Regions from separate parts of the Homo sapiens genome. Here region 1 is linked to region 2. Evidence: promoter capture Hi-C in human tissues and cell types (Jung and others, 2019). All regions are on one chromosome and are shown on one strand. Each heading gives the region's core, a stretch centred on a gene start or on the middle of the fragment in contact. The rest is flanking DNA. Distances are from core to core; before and after follow the strand shown.

Region 1 (6,549 bases), core at 1,143-3,642, 48 kb after region 2:
AAGAGACTTAGACTCCCACACAATAATATTGGGAGATTTTAACACCTCACTATCAATATTACACAGATCAACAAGACAGAAAATTGACAAGGATATTCAGACTTGAACTCAGCTCTGGACCAAGCAAACCTAATAGACATCTACAGAACTCTCCACCCCAAAACAACAAAATATACGTTTTTCTCAGCTCCTCATAGCACTTATTCTAAAACTGACCACATAATTGGAAGTAAAACACTCCTCAGCAAATGTAAATGAACAGAAATCATAACAGTCTCTCAGATCACAGTGCAATCAAATTAGAGCTCAGGATTAAGAAACTCACTCAGAACTCACAACTACATGGAAACTGAACAACCTGCTCCTGAATGACTGCTGGATAAATAATGAAATTAAGGCAGAAATAAATAAGTTCTTTAAAAACAATGAGAGCAAACACACAATATACCAGAATCTCTGGGATACAGCTAAAGCAGTGTTTAGAGGAAAATTTATAGCACTAAATCCCCACAGCAGAAAGTAGGAAAGATCTAAAATGACACCCTATCATCACAATTAAAAGAACTAGAGAAGCAAGAGCAAAAAAATTCGAAACGTAGCAGAAGACAAGAAATAACTAAGATCAAAGCAGAATTGAAGGAGATAGAGACACCAAAAACCCTTCCAAAAATCAATGAATCCAGGAGTTGGTTTTTTGAAAAGATCAACAAAATAGATAGACCACCAGCCAGACTAATAAAGAAGAAAAGAGAGAAGAATCAATAGACACGATAAAAAATGATAAAGGGAAAATCACCACTGATCCCACAGAAATAGAAACTACCATCAGAGAATATATAAACACCACCACACAAATAAACTAGAAAACCTGGAAGAAATGGATACATTCCTGGATACATACACTCCCTAAACACTAAACCAGGAAGAAGTTGAATCCCTGAATAGACCAATAACAACTTCAGAAATTGAGGCAGGAATTAATACTCTACCAACCAAAAAAAAACCCAGGTCCAGATAGATTCACAGCCTAATTCTACCAGAGGTACAAAGAGAAGCTTATACCATTCCTTCTAAAACTATTCCAAACAATAGAAAAAGAGGGAGTCCTCCATAACTCATCTTATGAGGCCAGCATCATCCTGATACCAAAACCTGGCAGAAACACAACAACAAAAAAAAGAAAATATCAGGCCAATATCCCTGATGAATATCGATGTGAAAATCTTCAATAAAATACTGGCAAACCAAATCCAGCAACACATCAAAAGGCTTATCTACCACAATCAAGTCAGCTTCATCCCTGGGATGCAAGTCTGGTTCAACATACACCAATCAACAAACGTAATCCATCACATAAACAGAACCAATGACAAAAACCACATGATTATCTCAATAGATGCAGAAAAGACTTTCGATAAAATTCAACACCGCTTCATGCTAAAAACACTCAAAAAACTAGATATTAACACAATATATCTCAAAAAATAGGAGATATTTATGACAAACCCACAGCCAATATCATACTGAATGGGCAAAAGCTGGAAGCATTCCCTTTGAAATTCAGCATAGGACAAGGATGCCCTCTCTCACCACTCCTATTTAACATAGTATTGGAAGTTCTGGCCAGGGCAATCAGGCAAGAGAAAGAAATAAAATGTATTCAAATAGGAAGAAAGGAAGTCAAATTGTCTCTGTTTGCAGATGACATGATTGTATATTTAGAAAGCCCCATCATCTCAGCCCAAAACCTCCTTAAGCTGATAAGCAACTTCAGCAAAGTTTCTGGATACAAAATCATTGTGCAAAAATCACAAGCATTCCTATACATCAATATCAGACAAACAAAGAGCCAAATCATGGGTGAACTCCCATTCACAATTGCTACAAACAGAATAAAATACCTATGAATACAACTTAAAGGGGATGTGAAGAACCTCTTCAAGGAGAACTACAAATCACTGCTCAAGGAAATAGGAGAATACACAAACAAATAGAAAAACATTCTGTGCTCATGGATAGGAAGAATCAATATCATGAAAATGGTCATACTGCCCAAAGTAATATATAGATTCAATGCTATTCCCATCAAGCTCCACTGACTTTCTTCACAGAATTAGAAAAACTACCTTAAATTTTATATGGAACCACAAAAGAGTCTGTATAGCCAAGACAATCCTAAGCACAAAGAACAAAGCTGGAGGCATCATGCTACCTGACTTCGAACTATACTACAAGGCTACAGCAACCAAAACAGCATGGTACTGGTACCAAAACAGACATATAGACCAATGGAACAGAAAAGAGACCTCAGAAATAACACCACACATCTACAACCATCTGATCATCAACAAACCTGACAAAAACAAGCAATGGGGAAAGGATTCCCTATTTAATAAAGGGTGCTGAAAAAACTGGCTAGCCATATGCAGAAAACTGAAACTGGACCCCTTACTTACACCTTATACAAAAATTAACTTGAGATGAATTTAATACTTAAATGTAAAACCTAAAACCATAAAAACCTTAGAAGAAAACCTAGGCAATACCATTCAGGACATAGGCATGGGCAAAGACTTCATGACTAAAACACCAAAAACAATTGCAACAAAAGCCAACATTGACTAATGGGATCTAATTAAACTAAAGAGCTTCTTCACAGCAAAGAAACTATTATCAGAATGAACAGGCAACCTACAGAATGGGAGAAAATTTTGCAATCTATCCATCTGACAAAGGTCTAATATTCAGAATCTACAAGGAACTTAAACAAATTTACAAGAAAAAAAAACAAACAACCCCATCAAAAAGTAGGCAAAGGATATGAACAGACACTTCTCAAAAGAATACATTTATGCAGCCAAAAAACATGAAAAAAAGCTCATCATCACTGGTCATTAGAGAAATGCAAGTCAAAACCACAGCAAATTACCATCTCACACCAGTTAGAATGGCAATCATTAAAAAGTCAGCAAACAACAGATGCTGGTGAGAATGTGGAGAAATAGGAATGATTTTATGCTGTTGGTGGGAGTGTAAATTAGTTCAAACATTGCAGAAGACCGTGTGGCAATCCCTCAAGGATCTAGGACCAGAAATATCATTTCAGCCAGCAATCCCATTACTGGGTATCTATCCAAAGGATTACAAACCATTCTACTATAAAGACACATTCACACATATGTTTATTGCAGTACTATTCACAATAGCAAAGACTTGGAACCAACCCAAATGCCCATCAATGATAGACGGGATAAAGAAAATGTGGCACATATACACCATGGAATACTATGCAGCCATAAAAAAATGAGTTCACGTCCTTTGCAGGGACATGTGTGAAGCTGGAAACCATCATTCTCAGCAAACTAACACAGGAACAGAAAACCAAACACCACATGTTCTCACTCATAATTGGTAGTTGAAGAATGAGAACTACATGGACAAAGGGAGGGGAACATCACACACCAGGGCCCGTTGGGGAGTGAAGGGCAAGGGGAAGAATAGCATTAAGAGAAATACTTAATGTAGATGACAGGTTGATGGGTGCAGCAAACCACCATGGAACGTGTATACCTATGTAACAAACCTGCATGTTCTGCACATGTATGCCAGAACTTAAAGTATAATAAAAAAAGATAGAGTACTAAAAGTAGCCATTTACAATTATGATTAGAAAGCATTTCAAAGTCATGAGAAAATTCATATGAACAAGTAAACGGTAACTGTTCAATAAATGGTGACTGTTATTAGCAAAAAAATAGAGTATAAAAAAAGATCTCTTCAATACATGGTGTTAGGATAACTGTATATCCATAAGCAGAAGAATGAAGCTTGACCTCTGTCTCTCATCATATACAAAAATCAAATCAAAATGGATTAATGACTTAAATCTAAGACCTCAAACTATTAAACTACTAAAAGAAAACATTGTGGAAACTCTCTGGCACATTGGTCTGGGCAAAAATTTCCTTATTAATACCCTACAAGCACAGACAACCAAAGCAAACATGGACAAATGAGATCACATGAAGTTCAAGAGCTTCTGTATAGTAAAACAAACAGTCAACAAAGTGAAGAGACAACCCACAGAATGGGAGAAAATATTTGCAAACTACCCATCTGACAATGAATTAATAACCAAAATATATAAGGAGCTCAAACAACCCTATAGGAAAAAAACTCTAATTATCCAATTTAAAAATGGGCAAACTATTTTAATAAACATTTCTCAAAGGAAGATATACAAATGGTAAACAGGCATATGTAAAGGTTCTCAACATCATTGATCATCAAAGAAAGGCAAATCAAAGCTACAATGAGATATTATATCACCCCAGTTAAGTTGGCTTATATCCAAAAGACAGGCAATAACAAATGCTGGCAAGAATGTGAAAAAAGGGAAACTTCATACACTATTGATGGGAGTGTAAATTAGTACAACCACTACAGAGAACAATTTGGAGGTTCCTCAAAAAACCAAAAATAGAGCTACCACATAATCCAGCAATCCCACTGCTGGGTATATACACAAAAGAAAGGAAATGAGTGAATCAAAGAAATATCTGCACTCCCATGTTTGTTGCAGCACTGTTCACAATAGCAAAAATTTGGTGGCAACCTAAGTGTCCATGAACAGATGACTGAAAAAAGAAAATATGGTACTTATACACAATGGAGTACTATTCAGCCATAAAAAAAGGAATGATATCCTGTCATTTGCAGCAACATGGATGGAACTGGAGGTCCTTATGCTAACTGATATAAGCCAGGCACAGAAAGAGAAACTTTACATGTTCTCATTTATTTGTGGAATCTGAAAATCAAAACAATTGAACTTATGGAGAAAGAGAATAGAAGGATGGTTATCAGAGGCTGGCAAAGGGAGTACAGAGGTGGGAGGGAAGCTGGCAAGTGTTAATCGGTACAAAAAAAGTAGTTAGAAAGAATAAGACCTAGTATTTGATAGCCCAACAGGGTGACTATAGTCAATAATAATTTGATTGCACATTTTAAAATAAATAAAAAGGTATAAATGCATAGCTTGCAACACAAAGGATAAATGTTTTAGAAGACGGATACCCCACTTACATGATTTGATTATTATGCATTGCATGGTTATACAAAACAGCTAATGTTCTCATAAAAATATACACCTACTATGTACTCACAAAAGCTAAAATTAAAAAAATTTTTTAATAAGCAGAATATAAAATTGCTTGTATGACATCTCAACTATATAAAAATTACACTGAAAGACTGGAAGGAAATATGCTAAAATTTCAGCAGCTTGCACCTGAAATTGCATGTGATCTTTTTTAATGATTTTTTTTGCATTTTTACAAATTATAACAAGTAACAGTCATTTGTGTAATCAGAAAAAAAGATAAATTAATATGGTCTCGATTTTTGTTCCTACCCATAACTCATGTTGAATTGTAATCTCCAGTGTTGGAGGTAGGACCTGATGAGAAGAGATTAGCTCACAGGAGTGGATCTTTCATCAGTGGTTTAGCACCATCACTTTGGTGCTGCTCTCATGACAGAGTTCTCATGAGATCTGTTTGTTTAAAAGTTTGTATCACCTCCCCCCTCACTCCCTTCCTCCTACTCCAGGCATGTAAGATGTTCCTGCTTCCTATTTGCCTCCACCATGATTGTAAGTTCCCTGAGCCCTCTCCAGAAGCCAAGCAGAAGCCACTATGCTTGCTATTCAGCCTGAAGAACTGTGAGCTAATTAAACCTCTCTTCTTTATAAATTACTCAGTCTCAGGTATTTCTTTATAGCACTGTAAGAATGAACTAATACATAAATGTTATTGTTAAATAATGTCATTTCGTTTTCCTTGTATCTGCAGACAACCACATGCCAGGCAGCCAGTTCTCTTTCAATTGAAGAAATGCAAGTTGAGCCTCTAAAGGCTGGGGGAGTTTGTATTAAGGTAAATTTAAGTGGTTTAGCCTTTCCTTTTTAAGGCAAAAAAAAAGGAAATCCTGTTTCATTAAAAAGATTTATATACATATATTCAAGTGAGTTATATATATTTTATTTACATTTTTAGTCTGTCCACTTTGCTTAGTAAAAGAAGAATTTTTAAAACTAAGATAAATGAGGGGATCTATTCCAAGATGGTGGAATAGGAACAGCTCTGGTCTGCAGCTCCCAGCATGATTGACGCAGAAGATGGGTGATTTCTGCATTTCCAACTGAGATACCTGGTTCACCACATTGGGACTGGTTGAACAGTGGGTGTAGCCCATGGAGGGCAAGCCAAAGCAGGGTGGGCCATCGCCTCACCCAGGAAGCACAAGCAGTCCAGGGATTTCCCTTTCCTAGCTGAGGGAAGCCATGATAGACTGTACTGGGAAAATCGGGACACTGCCACCTAAATACTGTGCTTTTCCAATGGTCTTAGCAAACAGCACACCAGGAGATTATATTCCATGCCTGGCTCAGAGGGTCCCACACCCACGGAGCCTTGCTCAATGCTAGCGCAGCAGTCCAAGATTGAACTGCTAGGTGGCAGCCTGGCTGCAGGAGGGCCATCCACCATT
Region 2 (7,469 bases), core at 928-3,427:
ATGAAAAGATGGAGTAGGATCTTCCTCCTTTGAATTCCACGTTGAACTCTTCTCCTGGCACGACCACTTCCTGCTTCACAGGAGGGTTCTCTGTCTTGTCTACCTGACCACAGCCAATCCCACTGCTAATCTGTAAACCCTTAAAGAGGAGACATCGGATCTTCTGGATTATGGGACTGCTCATAGAACAGTGCCTGTCCTAACATAAATGAGCATAAGAATTCAACAATCACTCATTAAACACCTACAGTATACATGGAGCTAGGTATAGTTGATGATATAAATGAAATTTAAGAACATCCCTGACTAGAAATTTCCAGTAGAAATTAGGAGACTGATCTCTACACTAAATATAGAGGGCGACAAAAGGGAACAGACCCAAAACCACAGGAGAGATGCTAGCATGACAGGGATGCAGAGACATAAAGCACAACAGTGAGATGGAGTTAATATACCTCCACGAGGGTGACCTTGTCCTGCATCTCAAATTTTGGGTAGGATTTGAATGGGCCAGAGGGACAGAAAAGAAGAGAAAGAGCATGATGAGCAAGGGCTTGAATGTTAAATAGATTCCTCTTTGGGGGACCAGGGAGATACAAGCTTCTAAAGCACATACGCCCTGTATTGGAGAATGGGGAGGAGTAGATAGATGAGAAGGTTGAAGCCATATTACGAAGCCTTGAATGCTGAACATCAGATCTGGGGCTATATTCTTACCTTGATACATTTCAGAAGCAACTGAAATCGTAGGACCTTCCTTGCTTCTCTATTGGGTGAATGTTTCTCAGTCTTGGTGTGAGTCTCAGTGCCTACGTAGTTAAAGCTTACTGAAATGTTCCCTTTACAATTCTAGAGAGATATGTCCTTTATGTTGACATGTTCATGTTGACAGACTGCATCTGATTAAACAGCTGCCTGTGCAATGCCTCCAAGTGTGGATAAAAGAAAAATTAAACTCATAATCTTGGACAGCCATGTGTAGACTAGTTACATTGATCAAAGGGCAATAGAAATGATCCAGTGAGGATTTGTCTGAATTTCCCACAATTATTTAAAATCTACCTCAAATACCTGTTCATCTATAATGCCTCCCCTGAGGCCTTCATTCTGAATAGTACCTCTGTCTCTGTCCCCAAAGCACTAACTGATCCCTGTGATAGCGCACTTCCCAGCCAGGCTGATATGTAGACTTGGCTGCCTGTGTATCTTTTCCCCATAGACTGTGAGCTTCCTTTTATGAATAATAATTGTAGCTAGCATTTAGTAGGGTGCTCCTACCTGTTAAACTCTATGATGAGTGCTTTACATAGATTATATCATTTATTCACTAAACAGTCCTTTAAAATGGTGCTATATTCACTAAACAGTCCTTTAAAATGGTGCTATATTCACTAAACAGTCATTTAAAATGGTATTATTCTTCTTCATCTTACAGGTAAACAAACTAAGGCAAAAAAAAAAGTGAAATAATAAGTGCCAGTACACAGAGCTAGTAAGGAATAGGGTCTGCCAGGTCCCAAAAAGCATGCCATCACCTTTGCCCCATACTGCCTCTGGTACAGATAGAGGTAATGTCTTATTTATCACTGCCATCCACTGGACCCAGCTTAGTGCCTGACACACAGAGGGGCTCAGTCAATGCTGATTGGTTTGAGGTGGAGCAAAAATGCTTAGCAGGGTGAGCACCTTTGCTGTGATTGAGTATCTGATTCTCTATGAAGAGAAGGGGAGTCCTGAGCCAAACACATTCCTCTGGCTCCTGGCTGTCATCTTTATTTGCCCGGCTTCTTTGCTCTTCCTCCTTCCTAACTGCACCGTTTGGATTCAAAGCTGGAGCTTAATGCAGATAAAGGGAAAACAGAACTTTGAATGACCACTGTGGGACTAAGAGAGGAGAAACAAGAAATTTGACAGATGAGGAATAAAGTGAGGAGAAGAGAAAATGATTAAGCTTTATCACTTTAACTTAATATTTAACCTAATGAAAACAAAATCTTATTTGAAATTGGAAAAATCAATGTATTGATTGCTGGTTCATTGCCCTCTTCTTTATGATTTGACAGTCTGTGAATAATCTAATGGGTGTGGCTTAAAGACCTAGATCATGTGTGGAACTGGAATCGGGTGTTATTCAAGCAAAAAAAATAAATAAATACCTATGCAATACACCTGCTTTATGCACTTGAGCAGGGAAGAAATCCACAAGGACTCACCAGTCTCCTGGTCTGCAGAGAAGACAGAATCAACATGAGCACAGCAGGAAAAGTAAGCAAAAAATATATTACTGTTGGAACTATATTCTCATCAATATAACAAAGAAAGTAATACAGTATTTGATGAATCATTTAAAATTCATATCTAAATTAGAAATGATACACTGAAATATGATATGCAATATATGCTATAATATGTAATGTATACTGAACTACAGTGGAAATAAGCTATTCCTAAATACCTTCAAAAAGAATGTATAGAATCTGTATCTATGAAGTGTTTATTTCCCACATTAAAGACATTTGCGGTAAAGCGATAATTTATTCCAAGCTAATCATGATTAATTTGTAAAGCCAAAGTTAGAAATGTCTTTCATCAAGAAGTTTTCTTTATATTAAGGTACCATAATTTAAATGTATTACTATTTGTATTTATATTTTTTGTGAATACAAGAAAGTTAAGTCTGATGAAAGTTTTATGAGAGGATTTGATTTAGAAGACTTTGAAATACCCTTTTAACCTTAACATAAAATAGTTTACAAAATGCTCATTGGTCTCACAGCATTAGAATCATCAAGGTTAATCAAGACAACATCAACATTCAAATTCTGATTTAAAAGGGTCTAGTAGGACACAATTCAGGCAATTTCCAGAGTAATCCTATGGAACAGTATCTTCCCCATATAAAAGTCAATATGGTTTTACAGAAAATTAATAATACAATTTGAATCACTTATTAGCACTAGGAACACAGATATTTGGTTTTGCCTTCCATAAATATCTTAATTGTTCAATGTGTTTATAGGTGCACAAAAATACATGTGGTAATACAATATAATCAATTGATATTTTAATTGCCTAATTACAAAAATTTGTGCAACTATTTCCAGTCCTTTTTTGTGTTAGGAGTGTATTACACAGTAAAATATCTCACTATGATAACTCAGTTTAAAGGCTCTGAGGCTTCTCTATACACTCTGTGACAAAACAGGTTCATATCAATAAGACTGGTTGGAAATCACATGGGTGGCCCATTGTTACTGTTCTTATTCCACCTCACTTTACTTTCATTCATTACTGATTAATATGTACATTCCACATAGAAAACAATTAGCAAAAAAATTAAATTTACCAAACTCAACTTAAAAGAAATAATGAGTTCCTACAGCAAAAGTATAAACCAATCATATTAATGAAAATAATAACTGATGAAATAGACAATTGCCTCCCCTCTTGGGCACAACATCAATAACTTAGTTTGTTGTCAGCATTTCATTTATGTTTATACATCCTGCATTATATTTTCCTCAAATGCTAAATAGTGACAATACTAACATCTATTTCATAAAGTAGTTGTGTTGTGATAATTCAATAAATGAATACTATAAAGAACTTAAAATTGTATTTGGGATGTAGAAATAAGTCAATAACTATTAGCCACTATTATTATTGTTGCTATTTAACTTTTTGCTAACTTTTTACTGACACCGAGTAGTGAAAACATAAGGCTAGATTCATCTTTATTCTCTGGAAAGCCAGCTTTGAGACTTTAGAGAAATTAGTTAATCACTGAGTCAATGGATCCTCAATTATTTCAGCTGTAAAATAAAGCCAATAATTCAATAGTACTGTCCTGGTAGCATCCTTATGAGATTTTAAAATAATGCATGTTGTTTATAGCAGCACAATTTGCAATTACAAAATACAGAACTGACCTAAATGCCCATCGACAAACGAGTAGATAAAGAAAATATGGTGTGCATATACCATGGAATACTACTCAGCCATTAAACAGAATAAAATAAAATAATGGCCTTTGCAGCAACTTGGATGGAGCTGGAGACCATTATTCTAAGTAATTCAGAAATGGAGAACCAAACATCATATGTTCTCATTTATAAGAGAGAGTTAGGCTATGAGGATGCAAAGGCATGAGAATGATATCATGAACTTTGGGAACTCGAGGGGGAAGGTTGAAAGGGGAGGTGAGGGATAAAAGACTACATATTGGGTGCAATGTACACTGCTTGAGTGAAGGGTGCACCAAAATCTCAGAAATCACCACTAAAGAACTTACCCAGGTAACCAGAAAACACCTGCACCCCAAAAACTATTGAAATTAAAAATAAATTTTATAAATAAATATAATGCAAATAACTCACCGAGCACAGGCCACAATGTGCCTGTCACATCATAGGCACCTGATAATCAGGAACTCCTACTATTAGTACTTTACTTCCAAGTATTCTGATATTTATTTGGCATTGATCATGTTGAACATCCTGCAAAGTTGAATAATTTGACAAATAAATAATGACAACGAATTATCAGAAGAACAAATTTCAATTGAATTTTTATCATAATTGCAATTTTGTTGATTCTCTCTGGAAAGAGTTTTGTGAATTGTACATGCTTAACCACAATGAAGACAGATATTACAGTTCACTGCCAAGCACTGGAAATTATGTGTACATCTTTTATTTTTAAGAACATCTATGGATAAGATCTGCTAGCTAGAAATTCAAACACACAGTGTCTCCAATTTTGAAATATGTATGTGTAGGTCTGAGTGTATACACACACACACATACACACACACACACACACACACCCAACTCTAACCTTTGTAATTTGGGGCTCAAATCAAAGCTGGAAGGAGTCTCTACACATAGATCAGATAACAGTACAGCCTCTCAAAGCTAAGTTGCAAATGGGTGTTGGAACAAGTAACACACAGAAGTGGTGGAGAGAGAAAATTAAAAGAGGAGAATAGGAAAAGAGAGAGAAAGAGATGTCATCCCAGGCAGGAAGGTAAATATATCCTTATAAACTCAGATCCTTTTGGCCTAAGCAGAAAATTGAGAAAGAAAACAGTGTATTTTATGTGAACAGACACTGACTCTGTCAGCAAAATGAAGGTGACTTAGAATTTGATGTACCAGCCAATAATTGTGGGTGAAGAGACATTTTCAGCATAGCATTAGGAAATGTCAGGATTAAACAACTTTGGAGAAAAACAACAACAACATAAGGATGGCCTTAATGAATATATTCCATTTTATCTCAGTGTGTTGTTATAGTTAACTGTTTATCTTTCCTTATGTTATTGCTTTTTTAAAATATATTTTTTTCTCTTTATAAATCAGAGGTGATCATTTCTATAGAGCACTTGTTAGGTACCAGACATGGGATTAGATGTTGTATGTACAAAGATGAAATGACACAATATCTGACTGCAAGCGTGGGAGAACACTGGTGCCATCTCTCTGTTTGCTTTTCTAGGTAATCAAATGCAAAGCAGCTGTGCTATGGGAGTTAAAGAAACCCTTTTCCATTGAGGAGGTGGAGGTTGCACCTCCTAAGGCCCATGAAGTTCGTATTAAGGTGAAATACATTTTTCCATTTGTATTTAAGTTTTAAAAACTCAGAAAAGTTAAAAAACGGAAACAACCAAATTTTTATATGATCATCCAGAAAATAGAATATACTTGTTGTCAAGGAAAGGTATAAATATAAATTTTTAAATTTTAAAAAAGTGCACACAGTGTAATTCCAGTAAAATACAAAAGAATTTATGTGTTTGTACAGAAAGAAAATTTCAAAGTGATATATATCAAGACTTCAAAATCAATTAGCATTAGATATTTTTATGTATTAATTTGCAACTTCTACTTCTATTTTTTAAAGGCATGCATTCTTTTATATTATTTAAGACTTAACTATTTCAGGATCAGTTACTTCACAGATTATTCTAAACTGTTTACTTCAAGAATGGAAGGTAGAGGAGGGTTTCAGCCTGGTCAACCTTGAGGATAAACTGAATCTTTCATACTTGGGATAGTAGGGATTATTAGCAAAACCCTTGAAAACATTTTGGAAGCGCAATTTCAGGGAACTGGGATTTTTAAATTCACCTGAGACTCACAATCTTTTATAAACATCTTCTCTTCACTCTGTAGATGGTGGCTGTAGGAATCTGTGGCACAGATGACCACGTGGTTAGTGGTACCATGGTGACCCCACTTCCTGTGATTTTAGGCCATGAGGCAGCCGGCATCGTGGAGAGTGTTGGAGAAGGGGTGACTACAGTCAAACCAGGTACAGGATTCACATTCAGGAAACATGATGGTTCACCATCCTAAGATTTCCCAGCCTGAATGAGGAAACAGAGGCAAAGAGGGACGAAAGGGCTTGACCAAGGTCACCGCGCAGCCAGGACTTCAGGGATTTCCTCTTTCCCTCTCTTCCTGCCTGACTCAAGCATGTATGTCTTTAGGCACGCATGTATTCTACCCTTCAACAATTATGTACTGAGCATCTGCTAGATGCCAGTCACCAGGTTGGAGCCTGGAGATATGTGAGGATCAAAAGGGACACAGTGCCTACTAGTGTGGCATTCATAATCTAGTAACTTCCGTGTTAGTGTTGGTGAACACGGTCTTCTGTCAGGGCCCAGACACCTAGAAATGGGAGGAGGGAAAAAACATAAGTATGGACATTGTTCTGTGCTGAGTTCACAAAATGGACGCTACATGGCTACGGCTGAATGAGCATGACCTTTTCTTAGGTGACCTATGCAGCCCCTTCACCAATTTCCTCTTGCAACGTGGTCTCTCTTCCTGAGCAAGGAATCAATGAAGCAGACTAGGTGAAAGGAAATGAAAGAAACATAGAAAGAGCCATCCACCATCAACAATGTCTGCCTTATTACTTTCAGCCATGCTTAAATGTAACTGGTTACGGATTACTAATTATAAAGGGAGAATAACTAGGACACTTCCATACTATCATTTTCACATAAATTTTACCTATAAAATGTTATGGGCCAACCATTTTTCTTGGTCTTGTGGAATAGACAGCATAGGTAATTTAAAATAAAAATTATGTTTAATTCTAAAAAAATCACTTTTTTTTTTTTTTTTTTTTGAGACGGAGTCTCGCTCTGTCGCCCAGGCTGGAGTGCAGTGGCGCGATCTCAGCTCACTGCAACCTCCACCTCCCGGGTTCACGCCATTCTCCTGCCTCAGCCTACCGGGTATCTGGGGCCACAGGTGCCCGCCACCACACCCAGCTAATTTTTTCTGTTTTTAGTAGAGACAGGGTTTCACCATATTAGCCAGGATGGTCTCGATCTCCTGACCTCGTGATCTGCCTGCCTCGGCCTCCCAAAGTGCTGGGATTACAGTCTAAAAAATCACTTTAGGCACTAGATTGGACCTGCCACTTTACCAAATACTTATTTGAACTGTGAACAG

What was found. Contacts are between HindIII fragments. The study calls those that stand out against the background at their distance.
Region 1: a fragment that was not itself captured here is called in contact with the fragment with the promoter of ADH1A in region 2 in 1 of the 25 tissues and cell types used here (stomach).

What each region holds. Positions count from the first base shown.
Region 1 is chr4:99,239,312-99,245,860 of GRCh38, reverse strand. The region is part of intron 4 of LOC100507053 (a long non-coding RNA gene); the gene reads right to left. Among named protein-coding and RNA genes, the nearest start is that of ADH6, 23 kb to the right of the region's middle. The HindIII fragment of the contact is 5,924 bases long and covers 1-5,354 here.
Region 2 is chr4:99,285,693-99,293,161 of GRCh38, reverse strand. ADH1A (alcohol dehydrogenase 1A (class I), alpha polypeptide) reads left to right here and starts at 2,177. Exons shown (of 9, transcript NM_000667.4): 1 at 2,177-2,265; 2 at 5,497-5,598; 3 at 6,174-6,312. The coding sequence starts at 2,248. It overlaps LOC100507053 (a long non-coding RNA gene), which reads right to left. Exons shown (of 10, transcript NR_037884.1): 5 at 6,129-6,367; 6 at 4,377-4,496; 7 at 2,214-2,225. RefSeq lists a promoter at 1,015-2,231 and an enhancer at 5,696-6,895. The HindIII fragment of the contact is 12,505 bases long and covers 1,388-7,469 here.